2 separate regions of the Homo sapiens genome follow, and region 1 is linked to region 2. The links are contacts of gene promoters, found by promoter capture Hi-C in blood cells and fetal thymus (Javierre and others, 2016). All regions are on one chromosome and are shown on one strand. The core of a region is centred on a gene start or on the middle of the fragment in contact, and the rest is flanking DNA. Distances in the headings are between cores, read along the strand shown. Region 1 holds the start of MIR3649 (microRNA 3649). Region 2 holds the start of DCP1B (decapping mRNA 1B).

Region 1 (3,849 bases), core at 326-2,825, 350 kb before region 2:
TCCTGAACTTGGGAACCTGGGCTGCATGCTGAATTAAGAACTCACAGTGAAAACTCTGCTAATCTGTAAAGTCAATTTGACTCTTTGATGGGCAGAGAAATTTGGCTTGCTTTATTTATTTCTTTATTTTCAGACAGAGTCTCACTGTCACCCAGGCTGGAGTGCAGTAGCTCAATCATAGCTCACTGGAGATTTGACCTCTTGGGCTCAAGAGATCCTCCCATCTCAGCCTCCTCAATAGCTAGGACTACAGGTGCACGCCAGCATGCCCAGATAATTTTGTTCATTTTTTTGTAGAGACAGGGTCTCACTCTATTGCCCAGGCTGGTCTTGAATTCCTGAACTCAAGTATTCCTCCTGCCTCAGCCTCCCAAGTAGCTCAGACCACCAGTGTGCCCTACCATGACCAGCTATTTTTTTTTTTTTTTAATTTTTTGTAGAGACTGGGGTCTCACTGTGTTGTCTAGGCTGGCCTCAAACTCCTGGGCTCAAGCAATCTTCCTGCCTTGGCAGCCCAAAGTCCTGGGATTACAGGCATAAACCACCATGCCAGGTGCCAGGTCAGAGATGTGGTTTTTTCAATCCCAGGGTCAAGAAACCAGAATTGCAGCCCTGGCTCTGCTGTCAAATTGTTCAAAAGCCTCTGAGGAAGAAGGATCAGGCTTCCAGGCTTTATTTGCTCCTCAGTTCCCGGTGCCAGCTCAGGGTTTTTGCAAAGTTTAGCTGCCATAGGAAGTGAGAAATTGCTCTGGAAAATGTATATGTTCCCATTTTTGCCTTTGTTATTATTTCAGTTCTGCTGTGGACTGTTGTGAACTGACCCAGTAACCACAGGCTAGTTCTTTGTCTTCCAAGCCCCTTATTGCTTGTTTCCAACAAAGTAGTCAAAAACACTTTCTCTGCTAAACAAACTTTTTTTCTTTTTTGTAACAAAAAAGACCAAAGATAGAAATACAGCATGGCTTTCTTTTTTCCTTTTTTTTTTTCTTTTTTTTTTGAGATACAGTCTTGCTCGTTGCCCAGGCTGGAGTGCAGTTGTGAGATCTCGGCTCACTGCAACCTCCACCTCCTGGGCTCAAGCGATTCTCCTGCCTCGGCCTCCCTAGTAGCTGGGACTACAGGCGCATGCCACCACGCCTGGCTAATTTTTGTATTTTTAGTAGAGATGGGGTTTTGCCACGTTGGCCAGGCTGGTCTCAAACTCCTGACCTTAGGTGATCCGCCCGCCTTGGCCTCCCAAATTGTTGGGACTATAGGCATGAGCCACCGCGCCCAGCCTTACAGCATGGATTTCTAAACAGAGTGGCTATTTGTTGCTGGGACAGGTAACTGAGAGGATAGATTTCATTCCCCAGAGAAGTTTAAGAAAAGAAGAGCATTTAGATGTTTTTAGAATTTAGTAGAGTCTAGAGCCAGGGAGAAAACCAGACATTCTCTGGAGATTCATTTCAGCTAGAGGGTTCTGTGTGTCCCATCTCCCTTTCAGGGATTAATCAGCCTCTAAAAACAGCAAGGGCACAAGATTCAGTACAGAGGACCTGGCTTCCCAACCAACTAGTTAAGTGATTCAGGCAGTTTCCTCAGCAATAAAACAGAAATAATACTCTCTCTACCTCAAATTAAATCATATGGATGTGAAAGCCTTTTGTAAAATATAAACTTTTAAAATATTGAGGCTGGGCATGGTGGCTCATGCCTGTAATCCCAGCACTTTGGGAGGCTGAGGTAGCAGGATTACTTGGGCCCAGAAGTTTGAGGTTGCAGTGAGCTAGGATCGAGCCACTGTACTCCAGACTGGGTGACAGAGCAAGACCCTGTATTAAAAAAGAAAAGGGTAATGGTATATCTTACATAGATATAGATAAGTGTATAAGATATAGCTTGCTTATATCATGGCAAGATCAATGAAAATATGCTTTTTAAAAAAGTAAAGTTTATTATGTAAGCTCTTGGGAATCATCTCAACTGAAGCCAACCACAAATGCAAGGGGTCTAACCTTGATGATCTGGATTTGTTTGGTCTTTTGTATACCCAGAAATCCACCATCCTTCTCTATGTTGGTCTTGGTCTTTCCTGAGAAGGCCAGTACCTGAAAAGTGAGCATTCCACCTTCCACCCCGCCATCACATGGGAGTCTTTTTTTTTTTTTTTTAAATCCCCAGTCTGTTTACCACTTTGTCCTAAGAATCAAAGACTTAGGAAACTTTTTTTTTTTTTTTTTTTTGAGACAGGGTCTCACTCTGTCACCCAGGCTGGAGTGCAGTGGCGTGATCTCAGCTCACGGCAACCTCTGCCTCCCAGGCTCAAGCGATTTTCCTGCCTCAGCTTCCTGAGTAGCTGGAATTACAGGCACGCGCCACCACACCCGGCTAATTTTTGTATTTTTTTTTAGTAGAGACGAGGTTTCACCATGCTGGCCAGGCTGGTCCTTATCTCCTGACCTCAAGTGATCCACCAGCCTCGGCCTCCCAAAGTGCTGGGATTACAGGCGTGAGCCACTGCTCCCGGCCAAGGAAACTTCAAGAAGGCAAAGGCAAGGAGGCCCACCCCTGGGCCCTCAGAGGACATGGACAGGGAGCGGACTCTGAAAGGAGCTCTGGGAATGGACTCTGCCCCCTCTAGCCCCCAGGGCCTGGCCGCCTACACCCAGCTGCTTCTCCTCACTGGCCTCTGCCCCAGGACATGGCAGCCACATCAGGGACGTGGAGCTGGGAAGCGTCCCCCCTTCTCACAGAAGGTCTGTGACAGTGGAGAAGATTCCCAGGATCTCAGGCTAGAAGTTGGAAGGCATTTTCTGAGGGCCACATGATTCCACCAGCTGGAGTTTTCTGTTCCCATTGTACAGTCCTTGATTTCTGGGACACAAGATGTTCTTTTAGGCTTTCCTGAATAACAAAGATCACACATACACTTGTTTATCTGGGGAGATGCCTTCCCGTTCTAAACAACTGACTTACAAATTCTCTTTCTGAGAACAATGCCCATTCATAAGTTGGGAACATTCTGTATGAGTGACTTCTGGCTGGGAAGGCACAGTTCTCAGGAGGGGGAGGAGTTCTCAGGAGACCCCTGTAAAGTGGGCCTGTGCTTAGACACTCAGGTCCCTGTGTTTGCTAGAAACACTTGGGCACACACAGGTGCCTGTTCCAAGCCTTCCTCCCAAGGAACACACCTGCGCATGTGAGTCACATGTCCCGCCAACGTGCCACCTAACCTTCACCCTGAGCTGGGGAGTATTGAGTAACTGTGTCGTCAGCAAAGTCACCCCACTGCTTGGGTAACACCTTCAGATAGTATCCAGGCCAAAACATGTTAAGAAAAAAAATTCACTCACAGCCAGAACACTTATTCCTGTTTATCTTTTAACAATGCAAGGGTAGGGAAATTGTTTGGAAATCAAAACGTGGAAGTTCGTTCATCCTCCCAACTCGTGGAGTTCTAAGGCAGAGACTGGCTAAGCTTTTGTGGGACCTAAAAGTTATATAATCAGGGTGGGGCAGTTTAAATAATTACAAATACGGAATTATGAACAGGGCCTTAGAAGGCGAGGGAGAGGCCCTGAAACTTGAGCTTCATTCACTTAATGGAAAATCTAACTCTGATTCTAGGGGAAGAATCTAGAAGATTCCATGAAAATACAATGTTATAGAGCTTTAAATGACTTTCCCTAAAATACTTTTAATACTTCTTGCCTTAGTGGATCCTGGCTTTTCTTTGACAGTGTCATTCAGTTGAAAACCCTCTGGGTAAAGGCTCTTCGCCTCCTGGCAGCCCCATGCGGGCGGGAGGTGCTGCTCTCAGGGTCTTCACACCCCACTGTTGCAGCCCTCCGCCCACCCGTCTCTCCA
Region 2 (3,504 bases), core at 454-2,953:
TTATAACATTATACCTTTAGCATTTTTCTACAGAGCAGCAAAATAGCCATATGTAGAATATCTTTTTATATATTTTTAATTACCATGGAGGAAACTGTCTATGTTGCTCAATGTTCTTTATGTAAAAACGAAGGTGACACCTCGAAAAAACAAACAAACAAAAACAAACAAAAAAAGTAGGTGACAAATTCCCCTGGAAACTAGGGGGAAATAACCTCTTTCTCCTGATCAAGAGGTACACTTTCTATTACAGAAGAACGAATATTAAAGAGCTCTTCCTGTTCTCCTTTTGTGTTTGGCTACTAGGAGAGCAGACCTAAATTCTTTGCCCCATTCCGGCAAATTTCCTCCGTTAAGAACTTTGGGCAAAACTGTTTGTCTACCCCATTCTTGCTTGTCTTTTTATTTTTATGTTAATGATTTTCAGGTGAGTTTTTTACTACAGGCTGCTGAACTATACTGCAGATAAGTAGGCTTATGAATGTGGGTGTTAAAAAAAATACAGAGTTGTTCAACATGGATGTTTTCCTAGATTAAGTTTTGATGTTTATACAACCGACTTGAAGAACACAAAAAGTTTATCTGAAATCCATTCATCAAGGCTAAGTTCTCCATACTGTTTTGTAACTTATTTTAAAATGATGGATATCATGTATGTGATACATAATGGATGATGAATATTATTTGGACAAAACTCATTATGAGTAAAGAAACAAAATTACATGTCTCTACATTCGAGTGGGTGGGTTACAAAATTACAAGCAGCAATCCCTGCAACAGGATTCCAGTGTTCTAGGCTTCTACCCCATTCTAACTATGAGGAAAATGAAATTTCATTCCATTACCATTTACTGGGACTCTGCTTTGAGAAGAGCACTAAAATAATTTGGCTCCCAAATGACCTCCAATATCGAACTTGGTGTGCTGCCGTGTAATAATCTTCCCAAGAGCATCAGCTTCCTTCTAAGTGTTAGACCCTGCCCCATTTTGTCTTTTATTTGACGAGGTTGGCTCTTTTCTTGGTGTTTCCCCTTAAGTTTACAACTTGCAGATTTCTCCCCTTCTATCAAGTTTTGATTTCTCTTTGCCCCATCTAAGACTGACATTCCAAAATCAGAACTCTGCACTTTTATTCGTCTGCTGTCCCTGCCTCCCCCATAGCCACAGATTCACTGTAACAGAACTCTGCTCTACTTTCTCGAGCACATCGGTCTTCCGGCCATAAGGTATCAGGTCCTTCCTTTCCTTCGGCTCTTATGGTGCCGTACCCGATCGGTCTGGTCTCCCAGCGTTGGGTACGTTAGAGATTTAAGTCTTTTCCCCAACTCCAGGTAGCTCCACAGATCCGCCTTCCTTCCCCCAAACCCCCGAGACCCCATCTCCACAACTTCGGCCTCAGTCCCCAGATCCACCCACTTCCAGGGCGTCAACGTCTCCTCCCCCTCACCGGGTCCTCAAGTCCTGAGTCTGACGCCCCCCGCCTCCACCCCAACCCTGGGCTGCACTGCTCCGCCGCGTCCGCACGCACCCACTCGTTGGCCCGATGGCCGAAGGTGTACAGAGCCACCTGGCTGGCCACGTCCACGATGCGGTTGATATAGGGGTCGTGGCGCTGCAGGGCCGCTAGGCTGATGTCGCGCCCCTTTCCCACCAGGCCGCCTGCCGCCACGGCTGCCATCTTCCCTCCCTCCCAGACATAGGCACGGGGCTCTTGGAAGCCACTCTCAATAGATCGCAGAACGAGCGAGCTGCCTCGCAACCGAGAACCCACGGCGACCACACGGCCCGGGAGGCCTTCCGGCTCCAGTCACCCCCACCCTCCTGCCCGCCGACAGACGCAAGGCCTCACTAATCGATGGCCGCGCCCCGCCCACTGAGGATCGTTGCCACTGGCAACGACAAGCCCAGGCCTGCCCTCTGCATCCCGTTTCTTTCTCCAAGAGCTGTTTTTCTACGCGCTCGAGCCTTTGAGCTGTGTGTGCGGTAGGATTTCCTTCTTGGATGTGTTCGACCCCTTGGCATATCTTTTCTTTGGCGCTTCAGTGATCAAATCTATCACAATAAATAAGCCTCGAGCATCAAGAACTCTGAAGAGAAAGAGAACTGAATTGATTTCTGAATGCGCTAACACCCAGTGGTTCTCAAAGTGTGGTGTGGTCCTGGAACCCTTTGGGAGTTTCTGAGACCCTTTCAGGGGATCTGCAAGGTCAAAAAAAAAACAAAACCTTTTATGACAATGCTGAGACTTACTTATTTGACTTGTTCACTGTGGTGACGTTTTGCAGACAATGGTGGTTAAAAGCGCCGGTGGTTTAACCCAATCAAGGCAGGGGCACCAAACTGTATTGCTAGTCAAAGTACGCGTCACTAATCTGCACTCTCAGTTACAAAAGAAAAAAAAAAAAAGAAGAAGGTAGAGAGCCAGTGTCACCTGATGGTGTTCTTGATAAGCAGTAAGAATTATTAATTTCATTGAAGCTTAATCCTTGGGTACAATTCTTTTTAACATTCTGCATGAAAAAATAGGAAATAGGCATAAAGCACGTCTGCTGCAAAATGAAGTGTGTCATATTTGTCTCTAGGAAAATACTTCTGTGCTTGAGTTGTAGGCCGAATTCATGTTTTTATTTTTATTTTCATAAAACATTTTTACTTGAAAGAAAGATGGGCAAACTATGATTATTCAAACAGGTACTTGACAGACATTTTTCTGAAAATAAATAAAGTGTGCCTGTCACTTTCAGGAAAACAAGGGACAATTACTGCTGCCAATGATAATTTTTAAGCCTTCAAGCCAGAATTAAAAGTTTAGAAAATGTGTATCTACTGCCATGAGCTTGACATCTCAGTACTTAATGTTTTTTTTTCTGATGAGATCAGTGATGATATTAATGAGCGCAATTTTAACAAATCTTGTATAATGGAAAGTGTCAATATCTCAAAGATCTGCTTAACTCAGTGGTCCAGTATTTTCCAAAAGACCAATGTCTCATGCTACATAATCATGCACAGGCAAAAGATCCATTCAAGGACAAGGTGGACTAATGGATTTTTAATGTAACAGTATGAAAAGTTAATAGGATTTCAGATAGTACATTGCAGCTAAGCTTTGAGAAACTCCAGCTTGTCAAGTTTTGGTATATTATCCAAGAAGAATATCCACAATTGTCTGAAAAACTCTATTAAAATATCCATCTCTTTTCCAACTACATTATCTACATATGAGGCCAGAGTTTCTTCATATACTCCAAACAAAACACACATAGCCCGGGGTCTTTAAAGTTATTTTTAATTTCCAATATGGTAAATATAGGTGGGTATAACTCACATAAACAAAAGTTCTCTGAGGGAGTCCTTAATAATTTTTAAGAGTGGGCCAGGTGCGGTGGCTCCTGCCTGTAATCCCAGCACTTTGGGAGGCTGAGGCGGGCGGATCACAAGGTCAGTAGTTCAAGACCAGCCTGGCCAACATGGTGAAACCCCGTCTCTACTAAAAATACAAAA

Evidence for each region. Contacts are between HindIII fragments. The CHiCAGO score rates a contact against its expected background, and 5 or more counts as called.
Region 1: a contact is called between a fragment that was not itself captured here and the fragment with the promoter of DCP1B in region 2, in 2 of 17 cell types (total CD8 T cells and non-activated CD4 T cells). The highest score is 5.3, in total CD8 T cells.

The regions. Positions count from the first base shown.
Region 1 is chr12:1,657,228-1,661,076 of GRCh38, forward strand. It overlaps MIR3649 (microRNA 3649), which reads right to left and starts at 3,153; the gene lies at 3,088-3,153. The HindIII fragment of the contact is 3,765 bases long and covers 1-3,458 here.
Region 2 is chr12:2,002,754-2,006,257 of GRCh38, forward strand. DCP1B (decapping mRNA 1B) reads right to left here and starts at 1,704. Exons shown (of 9, transcript NM_152640.5): 1 at 1,529-1,704. The coding sequence starts at 1,678. It also overlaps a transcript of CACNA1C not described here. RefSeq lists enhancers at 786-1,425, 1,750-1,979. The HindIII fragment of the contact is 8,474 bases long and covers 1-2,476 here.